Regions from separate parts of the Homo sapiens genome. Here region 1 is linked to region 2. The links are contacts of gene promoters, found by promoter capture Hi-C in blood cells and fetal thymus (Javierre and others, 2016). All regions are on one chromosome and are shown on one strand. The core of a region is centred on a gene start or on the middle of the fragment in contact, and the rest is flanking DNA. Distances in the headings are between cores, read along the strand shown. Region 1 has its middle 2.9 kb from the start of SLC25A2. Region 2 holds the start of DIAPH1-AS1 (DIAPH1 antisense RNA 1).

The links. The method cuts DNA at HindIII sites, captures the fragments that hold promoters and counts their contacts. A CHiCAGO score of 5 or more calls a contact.
Region 1: a contact is called between a fragment that was not itself captured here and the fragment with the promoter of DIAPH1-AS1 in region 2, in 1 of 17 cell types (fetal thymus). The highest score is 5.1, in fetal thymus.

What each region holds. Positions count from the first base shown.
Region 1 is chr5:141,304,251-141,309,743 of GRCh38, reverse strand. No RefSeq gene overlaps it. Among named protein-coding and RNA genes, the nearest start is that of SLC25A2, 2.9 kb to the right of the region's middle. The HindIII fragment of the contact is 5,316 bases long and covers 1-5,207 here.
Region 2 is chr5:141,556,031-141,561,276 of GRCh38, reverse strand. DIAPH1-AS1 (DIAPH1 antisense RNA 1) reads right to left here and starts at 2,966. Exons shown (of 3, transcript NR_038333.1): 1 at 2,790-2,966. All of the region lies in intron 18 of DIAPH1 (diaphanous related formin 1), which reads left to right. RefSeq lists enhancers at 3,081-3,375, 3,136-3,988. The HindIII fragment of the contact is 6,603 bases long and covers 1-4,880 here.

The sequences.
Region 1 (5,493 bases), core at 1,300-3,799, 250 kb after region 2:
TCTCACCTTATGCATCGTTTCATCTGTATCCTTTTGTAATATTTTTTATAGTAAACCAGTAAACGTGTTTCCCTGAGTCCTGTGAGCAGCTCTAGTGAATTAAACCCAAAGAGGGGCCGTAGCAACCTCAACATGAAGCTGGTCTGTTAGAAGTTCTGGAGCCCCGGACTTAACGACTAGTGTCTGAGGTGGGAGTGGGGTGGGGTGCAGTCTTGGATACTGAGCACTTACCCTGTGGAATCTGATGCTTTCTCCAGGTAGATAGTGTTGGAATTGGATTGGAAAACACCCAGCTGGTGTCTGCTGTAGAACTGATTGCTTGCTTGGTGTGTGGGGAGAAACCCCGACCCATTTGGTCACAGAAGTCTGCTGTGTTTATTGTTGTGGTGTGAGCAGACGCAAAACATCTTGAGTGCATTTTTCCACTCACAGAAACAGTGCTTAAAGACTGGCAATATGTGTGCATCATGAACTGTAGCCCAGTGGGATCCATATATTTTGATTTCATTCTCAGAAAAGGGAAGGGGGGAAAAAGGTTTTGTTTTGTCTTGCTCTGTCACCCAGGCTGGAATGCAGTGAAATGCTTTTTATGGAGGCAAAAATAGCCTAGCATGGCTGTTCATACAGCAAAAGAAGATAAAATAGCAATGTAGAACTTAATCCATTTATTTGCAATGAAAGATAAAATATATAAAATATTTTTTAAATCTCACTCAGATAACACCTTTACAGTAAATAACCTTAATTATATGTTTTAGGCTCTCTCCATAATGAAATAGTAATGCAGACTATATGCCATGTCACTAGACTTGGAATGCCTTGGACTTGCTTATATTTATTACACATATAATGGGCTCCCTTTGTCTTAAGGTCTACATCTAATGGCTAAACCATTTCCAAATATCTGTTTCATTTGCCATTCAGTGTTTATTTTTAGACTACAGGATGCTTCGAAGGCAAATTTCTAATTTATATTAGGTGACCTTGCAAAATCTACATAATATGTTATTATTTAAATAATTTCTGGGCTGAGCACAGTGCCTTATTCCTGTAATCCCAGCACTTTGGGAGGCTGAGATGGGAGGATCACTTAAGCCCAGGAATTTGAGACCAGCCTGGGCAACATAGTGAGATTCTGTCTCTACAAAAAATTTAAAAATTAGCTGGGTGTGATGGTGCACACCTCTGGCCCAGCTACATGGGAGGCTAAAGTGGAAGGATTGCTTCAGCCTGAGAGGTTGAGGTTACAGTGAGCCATGATTGTGCCACTGCATTCTGGCCTGGGCAGCAGAGCAAGACAAACCAAAACAAAACCCTTTTCCCCCGTTCCCTTTCCTGAAAGTGAAATCAAAACATAGAAAAAAATTCCTCAAATATGACATGAAGGATTTAAAAATCCTAATGAAGTTTTCTATTTTCAAATTGCAGATTGTTCTCATCCTTTCTGCTTTACCTAAGAGGCTGCTAAATAAAACAACAGAAAGGATTTTTAAAAGATGTTAACTTCTAAGGACAAAGAGAATAGGAAATGAGACAACAGTGGATGAGAGATGTCAACCCATTATCTGAAGGCCAAAACAGAGAAATGATAAATGAATTCATAGATCAGAAAAAGTTACATGCTAAATGTCTGCAAGTAGTTATACCAAAGAGAGACAAACCCACTTGACAGAGCCTTGTAAGATGCAAAATTTTTGCAAGCAGAAGATTCCAGGGAAGGTGGGAAGGTGTAGGGTTAGAGATGTGAGATTCATTAAAGTCTGTGTTCAGAGTTGTTGGGTGTCCAGGATCTCTATCCCACTCTATGAAGCCAGATAACTCTTTCCATCCCACAGAAGATGGAAATTTTATTTTCTGGATAAATTGAACCAAAGAAGGCCCAAACTCAGAGAAAGTAGGCACAGTGTCAAATAAGGAAAAAATTATGTGAAAGTCTGTATATTTACTCCAGGTGTGTCATCCCTCTTCCCCTCTCTTGTTCTCTTTAAATCAGTATCTAGGTTTATAACCTACCTCTCCCCCACCACACCCTGCACACACACAGTCAAAGCTCATAGAGCATTCTCTGAGGAAACTATGTGGTACCAGAGAAAAGAACTGCAACTGCTGACATTTGGGCATTTCCCAAAGAAAAGCCCAGATTACTATTTACTACAGTGAAGACTACCTGGTGACAAATTATCCATGCACAATTTGCTTTTTAGTACCTCATTAAAAAATTTTTTTTTAAATTTTCTCAGAGACCTTTGTTCTGAAGTACCTCACTTTTAATTGACAGCCAAGGATAATTAGACAAGGAAAGTTTTCTAAATGAAAGAGAATGCTTTCAGCATACTTTCTTCCCCCCAGATTTTGTTTTTACTACCCATGGCCGACGACGGCTTGGAATGTAAGCCTGGAGAGAATTCATTCCAATGCTGGGATTATAAATATCTGGGAGGAAGAAGTGTGTCCTGACAGTGGTATCCTCACTAATGTCCAAAAAACATCTTGCTTTGAAAGCTAGACATGTCATTTGTATCCCGAACTTCTACTTCTTTTTAAATTGAATTTCATTTTAGATTCAAGGAGTACATGTGCAGGTGTGTTACATGGGTATGTTGTGTAACGCTGAGGTTTGGGCTTCTAGTGAACCCGTCACCCACATAGTGAATGTAGTACCCAACAGGTAGGTTTTCAACCCTCAATCCCTCCCACCCTCCCCACTTTTGGATTCCCCAGTGTCTGTTATTCCCATCTTTATGTCTTTGTGTACCCATTGTTTAGCTCCCACTTATATAAGTGAGAACATGCAGTATTTGATTTTCTGGTTCTAAGATATTTCACCTAGAATAACAGCCCCCAGCTCCATCCATGTTGTGAGGGACATAATTTCATTCTTTTTTATGGCTGCATAGTATTCCGTGGTATACATATACCACATTTTCTTTATCCAATCAACTATTGATGAACACTTACATTGATTCTGTGACTTTCCTGTTGTGAATAGTGCTTCCATAAACATATGAGTGTAGATGTTTTCTGGTTTTTTTTTTGGAGACAGGGTCTTGTTTTGCCACCCAGGCTGGATCATAACTCACTGCAGCCTCCAACTCAGCTCAGTCAATCCTCCCATCTCCGCCTCCTGTGTAGCTGCCACTACAGGGGCATGCCATCATGCATGGCTACTTTTTGTATTTTTTTGTAGAGATGGCATTTTGCCATGTTGTCCAGGCTGGTCTGGAGCTCCTGGGCTCAAGCGATCTACCTGGCTTGGGCTCCCAAAATTCTGGGATTACAGGTGTAAGTCACTGTCCCCAGCACAGGTGTCTTTTTGATAAAATGATTTCTTTTCCTTTGGGTAGATACCTAATAGTGGGATTGCTGGGTTGAATGGGTGTTCTATTTTTAGTTCTTTGAGAAATCTCCATACTGCTTTCCATAGGGGTTGAACTATTTTACATTCCCACCAACAGTGTACAAACGACAAATTTCTACTTCTGCATGAGGCTGTGTGGGTCCTCAAAGAGAATCTCAAAACTTAGAAAGCATAGTGCTGAGCCACCCAGCTCTTTTCTATCAAGTTTCTTAGCAATGCAGTATATAAATACTATCCATTTTCCAAGTTGATTTTATAGTGCCGTGTTCTATCTTCAGAAATGATAAGGACTCCACGTTCCACCAGTTCCCAGGGCTGCAACCCCAGATCCTTGGGGATGTTGCCATGTGATAGCATTTCTCCAGCTCTGCAGGAAAGCAGTAGCACATCTCCAGGGCTAAGGATTCCCACAGTGCCCTACTCCCCTCCTTGCCCCCCAGGAAAGTGAGGAGCGTGGGCAGATCGCTGAGGGTTTTCTGATCAAAAGCAGTCACTGTCTCTCATGTAGCAACCCTCAGATCGTTTCGTTACCGGACAGGGGTCCCGATCCAGACCCAAGAGATTGTTCTTGGATCTCATGCAAGAAATAATTTGGGGCAAGTTCATAGAGTCAAGTGAAAGCAAGTTTATTAGAGAAGTAAAGAAGCAAAAGAATGGCTACTCCATAGGCACAGCAGTGGCCTGGGCGGCTTGACTAAGGATACTTACAGTTTTTTATTGAATGTAAGCTAAACAAGGGGTGGATTATTCATGAGGTTTCTGGGAAAGGGGTCCAAAGTTACCGGAACTGAGGATTCCTCCCCCTTTTTAGACCACATAGGGTCACTTCTTATTGTTGCCATGGCATCTGTAAGTGGACACGGCGCTGGTGGGCGTGTCTTTTAGCATGCTAATGCATTATAATTGGCGTATAATGAGCAGTAAGGACGACCAGAGGTCACTTATTATGCCATCTTGATTCTGGTGGGATTTGGCTGGCTTCTTTACTGAAACCTGTTTTATCAGCAAGGTCTTTGTGACCCGTATCTTGTGCCGGCCTCCTATCTCATCCTGTGACTTAGAATGCCTGTCTTCCTGGGAATGCAGTCCAGTAGGTCTCGGCCTTATTTTACTCAGTCCCTAGTCAAGATGGAGTTGCTGTGGTTCCAGCGCCTCTGACAGTTTGTCTTCTCTACTTTATTTTTTGTAGGGGGTAAGGGGTGTCTCATTTTGCTGCCCAAGCTAGCCTTGAACTCCTAGGCTCAAATGAGCCTCCCTCCGCAGCCTCTCCAAGTGTTGGGATTACAGGCATGAGCCACCACACCTGGCCTGTCTTATCTACTTTAAAGCAGTTTTCTTGTAGATTGACCCTCTGAATTCAGGGTCTATTCAAGTGAGGGCATCTTCTTTTCGGGTTGTTTGTTTTTGTTTTTTGCATGGTAAGAAGCGTGGGATAGGCCGGGTGTGGTGGTTCATGCTTGTAAGCCCCAACACTTTGGGAGGCCAGTGGGTGGATTGCTTGAGTTCAGGAGTTCGAGACTAGCCTGGGCAACATGGCGAAACCCCGTCTGTACAATACAAAATTTAGCCAGATGTGGTGGCTTGCGCCTGTAGTCCCTCTAGTCTCAGCTACTCAGGAGGCTGAGGTGAGAGGATCGCCTGAGGCCAGGAGATTGGGGCTGCAGTGAGCCAGGATCGCGCCACTGAACTCCAGCTTAGGCGGCCGAGTGAGACCCTAAGTCAAAAAAAAAAAAAAGAGAGAAAAGAAAAGAAGCAGGGCTGACTGATTAGGACAGCATTTCTTTTGCCGCCAGCTGAACTGCGGCGTCTAGAGTTCCCGGCCATAATTGCAAGAATTTATCGAAAAGCTTTACATGTTTTCTTGGTTTTGGTTTTGTTTTGAGACAGAGCCTCACCCTTTCGCCCACCCTGGAGTGCAGTGTGCGATCATAGCTCACTGCAGCATCGACCTCCCGGGTTCAAGCGATCCTCGCTTCATTCTCCTGAATTGCTGGGACCACAGGCGCGCGCCATCGCGCCCGGGTATTTTTTCGTTTTTGTAGAAATGGAGTCTTGCCATATTGCCCAGGCTGGTCTCGATCTCCTGGGCTCAAGCGATCCTCCCGCCTCGGCCTCCCAAAGTGCTGGGATACAGG
Region 2 (5,246 bases), core at 1,717-4,216:
GGATGGAACCATTCTTTCCTCCTGATCCTACAATAACCCCAACTCTTCTTAGAGCCAGTGATTTCTTCTTTTAGATCTATTAGATGGGAAGATACGGCACTCTCCTGTGTGTGTGTTTGCATTTCTTTTAGCAAGAAAAACTGCAAAAATCCTTCCCAAGAATTTCCCGTTTTTCCTATTCTGCTTGCATTTTTCTTTTCGGCCACGGGGTGCGCGCAGTTGAGCTATTTTGGCTCAGGTTCCAGATTGTGAGGTCAGAGACTAGGGATTGGAGGAGAAGATCAGGTGACTTTCAGTAACAGAGATGGCGGTCCTCCCATCTCCACCCCTTCCCCCCCTCATCTTTCCCCACCCTTTCCTGGCTTCCACCTCAGGAACAAAGAAGGGAAAAAAACAGCAGTATGACGAAAACCAGCAGCTGTCTCTGCAGGCTCAGGCTGGGGGCTGGGAGTTTATTCCATCTGTTCTCTTTGTTCTGCTCTTACCCTGTTACTTCCCTTCCCAACCCTGAATAAAACAGAATATTTCTAGAATCCTTTGTTATGGAGAATGGTTTAGAATTCTGCAGTTTACTCAGTATTTATTTAGGTTAGCGTGGGTGAGATACAGCAGAGATTAAAACTGATCTGGAGCACCTAAAAAAAAGATGAAGGTACTTTGCCTTCTCATTCAGTCTTAAATTATGAATACCTATTTAATGTCAGATTTGTGACAGGGGATTATCAACTATTATTTCCAATTATCAAAACATTATTTCCATAATGCCTAATTGGTATTATCTTTGTTTTATAATTGAGAGATATAAAAGAGAATTAATATGTCCTTTGCTTGTTAAGATTTTATAGCAAGTAAACACCAAGCCAGAATTTGAGCCTAGATATATTGGGCTCAAATCCAGCACTTAGTGAAAGGGAGTGGCAAGAATGCAGGCATGTTGAGAGAAACCTCAGGTGCTTGCTTCCAGTGACTGACAGTGTAAAGTAACTGTGCTAGTGCTTCTTGATTTTTACCAGTGATTAGTGTCCTGATTTCTTCAACAAATAAATTTCAGGGGAAAAAATGAGATGGAGAGGAACATATAGATTAAGAGGGAATTTTAAATTTTATCAACCAGTACAGTATATGGAACTTATTTAGATCTTGATCCAAATGAACTATACAAAACACTTGACAGTTGAGACAGCTGGAAATTAGTGTGATAATGGTTTCATGGCATTTTTTAAAAAGTCATCATCTTTTAGAGATGTGTACAGAAATAATTGCGGATCATTATGGGATTTAGAAGTGGGGTGTAGATGAAACAGAATTGGTCACGAGTGGATAACTGTTGAAACTGAGTGATGTATGCATGGGGATTAATAATTGTGTTTTTGAATGTTTAATTTTTCCCATAATAAAACATTTTTTAATCCAGGAAAAGAGTTTTATTTCTAGTACCTTATTTTAATGCCTTTTCTTCTGCCCTCTAGCCTATTGTTTCCTTGCATAAACCTGTCCTCTTTGCTGACATACCTGAGTCCTTGTTTGGGATAGTGCCTGTCCTTCCAGTCCTTCCCCACCCACATCCTAGAAGCAGACCTCTTTTTAGCACTCCCTAATTGAGTCACCATCCTGGGTGTGCTGGGAAAGTATCTGTGGGAAACTCAATGACTATATTATCTGAAAGACCAAATGCTTGGTGAAGTGCCCAGATTTTTAATACTGCTTTTCTGCTACCCTTCCAGACTTATATCTGTCCCCTTCTTTATAACTCTCAGCATCTGGTTCTTCCTTTGGGATTCTGTGTGGCTTTGTTCTTGTCCTTTAGGTTTGTTCATTAATGCCAGTTTGCCCTGTCCCTCCTTACAGCTTGCACATCTGTAATGGTCTAGTTCTGTGGGATTTTGCAGATAGTTGTATATTTTGGCCAAGGTATCAGTGATACGGTTACCTTTGGGCAGGGATAACTGCTATTCGGTTGGCATGATATTTTTTCCTTCTATAATGTATACCTTAGTGATTGTTTTAAAGTGCTGAATTTATCCCTTATGTATATTACAACCATGAAGAATATAAATCAGAAGTCCTCCATTTGGGCAGCTTCTTATATTAACACTTATATTAACATTAAGACCCTCTTACTGTCTCCTCTTCCCAGAATTAGAGAGTTGATGTAGTGCTTAATAGACATGGCTTATTGTATGCTAGGTGAACTTGGCAATTCCATAGCTATGTTACCCTCACAGAAAGTTATTTCCTGGAGAGATTATTAAGTGTTCTGATCTTTCATATATGCCTGAGAGATCTAAGATTCTTCCACAAAGACCCTATTTCTTCAGAGAAAACTATAGTGATGCCAGAGTCTTTTTTTTTTTTTTTTTAACAACTTGTGATTTTTGTGCACCTGTGTTGTATGTGTTGCCATTATCTCACTTTAGGGACGTTGGATAAACTGGCGTATTTGTGCAGCCTCATTTAAGTAGTGGCAACCATTAATGACTTGTACCCACAAGTTTTTCCAGATAATTTCTGTTTTTTCCACCTTTCTTACATGTTCTTTTTTAGTCATAGGTACTTGGCTTACTCAAGGGAGGTGTAGCGTAAGATAAAGATAATGGAGGGTGTTCCCTGTAGAATAGGTACAAATGCTGCAGGCTTTATCTTGGGCAGAGCAAGTAGGGTTTTGGTCCTGAGTAAGTGAGTGAGGTTAGGTGGAGCTGCCTGTCTTCCAGCCGTGCGGATACAACTGACTCAGTCCGTGTTCTCAACAGTTTTTGAAAAGCCCATTTTTCTATCCCACTTACTCCCACCTGCAGTTCTTTAAGAACGTAGTTTCCAGGATGTCAGGCAACTCCCCACTCCTCCATTTCCTGTTTGTGGTCTTCATTGAGAGACGCCTTAAACAGGAATTCCTGGGGAAGTGCAGGCTATAGCGGTGGGATTCCGGGGGTCATTAGTCCATTATTGAAGCTGGGGAATCATGTACTATAAAAGGACCTCCCTTCCGTTCTGTTGTCTCCTAGAAACTATTACTGATCATAACCAAGCAGTAACTGCAACTCAGGGCTGTTGACTTGTGCCCTTTGTCTTTAGAGACTGAAAATTATTTTCCCTTCTTGTGCCTCAGTTTCTATTAGTTGAATTTTAGAGCTCAACATCAAGATTTGTGACAAAATTAACTTGGACTCTGTAGGACTGATTCGTTTGAAATGCAAAAGTAGTGAAGAACATAAAACAGACTCCCTATCTTGGCCGCCAGGGGGTGCCCTTTCCCTTCGCTTTACTGTCTGGCACTCCCCACCGCATTCAGCCATTTTAGACAGATTGTTTTTGCTCCCAGCTAACTCCATTTTGTATTTGTGACGCAGGAATAAAAAAAGGAGTTAGGCAAAGGAGGAGTCTGGTTTGCAGAGGGAGGGAGACTGGCTGAGGCGCAGCTACGTACTCTTTTACTCAGCAGTTGCTCATCAGGGACACACCTTGCTGCAGGCTGCCTGCATCCTGAGCAATCGATGCCGCAAGTCCTTGCCAGCGGAGCACAGAGCAAAATGGTTTGGCTGCCGGACACCTACTAACAGTGACAGAGTGCTAGCTTTTGAGGCAGCAGGCCAGGGCATCCCCTCTGCCTCATCTAGACTCTAATCCTGGGTTTAGGTGTTTTTGCTACAGAGATGTTTAGGGCAGTTTTCTTAATTATAGGATCAGATAAGAAAAGATACCCCCAAAAAAAGAAGAAAAAAAGGAACCCCTTTCACTTAGCTGTCTGGGAAGAATCAAATGCCCCAAGGACTCTAGGGAAATGGTCCTGAATTTTTTTAAAAAATGTTATTTTTGAAACCGTGAAAAAAATGCACGCACACATACACACATATATGTAAAGAGACTAGTATGAACACCCCTATGTCCATCACCCATTTAAAAAACTTAATCAACAGCTAGTCTTGTTTCATATACCTGTATCAACTTTGTCTTTGCCACCCATTATTTTTACATGTATCCTTGTTCATATTATTTAATCCTTAAGCAGTTCAGAATGTGTGTCAAAAAAATTAGGACTTTTAAAAGAAGATAATTACTACCATTATCACATTTAAAAAATTCTTTATCATCAGATAGCCAGTTAGTATTAAATTTCCCAAATTATCTTATGATAGTTGTTTTTTTTAATAGTTCATTTGAATCAGAGCCAAATAAAGTCTACACATTGCAGTTGGTTGATGTCTCTATAGGTTCTCTCTTATGCTCTTTTTTATTTTTTATTTTGCAATTTATTTATAGACTTAATTTCTTTTAAAAAGATCTCTGCCAGGCGCGGTGACTCACGCCTGTAATCCCAGCACTTTGGGAGGCCGAGGCGGGCGGATCACGTGAGGTTGGGAGTTTGAGACCAGCCTGGCCAATATGGCGAAACCTCGTCTCTACTAAAAATACAAAAATTAGCCGGGCCGCCTGGTGGCGCATGCCTGTAATTCCAGCTACTCGGGAGGCTGAGGCAGGAGAATTGCTTGAACCCGGGAGGCGGAGGTTGTGGTGAGCCAAGATTGCACCACTGCACTCAAGCCTGGGTGACAGAGTGAGACTCCATTTCAAAAAATAAATAAATAAATAAATAAAAAGAAGATCTCTCAGGTTGGGACTGAGAAGATACAAAGCCAGACTTCCCTTCTTGCCAGAGCAGAGCCTCTTCTTTAGGATTTCCCACAGAGGCTATTGGTGACCAAGTGAAGGAGCAATGCCCTGCCACCTTCAGAGGGAGAAAGGGCTGGACTCTTACTTTTCTCCTGACGTGATAATCTGTTACCCAAAGTCTTGAGAAAAGTTTGCACACTGCCGTCAACGGAGAACATGGTCATAGAAGTGGGCCTCACCCGTTCTAAGAATTAAAGGAGAGCTTTTAAGCTTTGGGACAACTGTGTTTGGCCACTGTGTAATAGCTGCATCCCTATGGTGATTCTAGAGTATCAGCTTTTTTTTTCCCGAATACTTTTTTTACTTAAGTAGCAGCTTTCTCCCTGGTAAGACTCAATGAATTAACAGCACTTCATGGACTTTTACAGAAAGAAAAAATATAATACTGTGTTGGGGCCGGGGGGGATGTGGTGAAAAGTCCTTTATGGCTTCAGGATTATAATATCGCTAGTCCTTCCCTTGACCTTTTTGGAGATACTCCCTGAGACTGACTTAGATGCAAATGATCAGATGAAAGTTCTTGCTTAATATTCTTCTCCCACTTCTGAAATGGGTCAGTGACTCTGACTTTCAGCAGC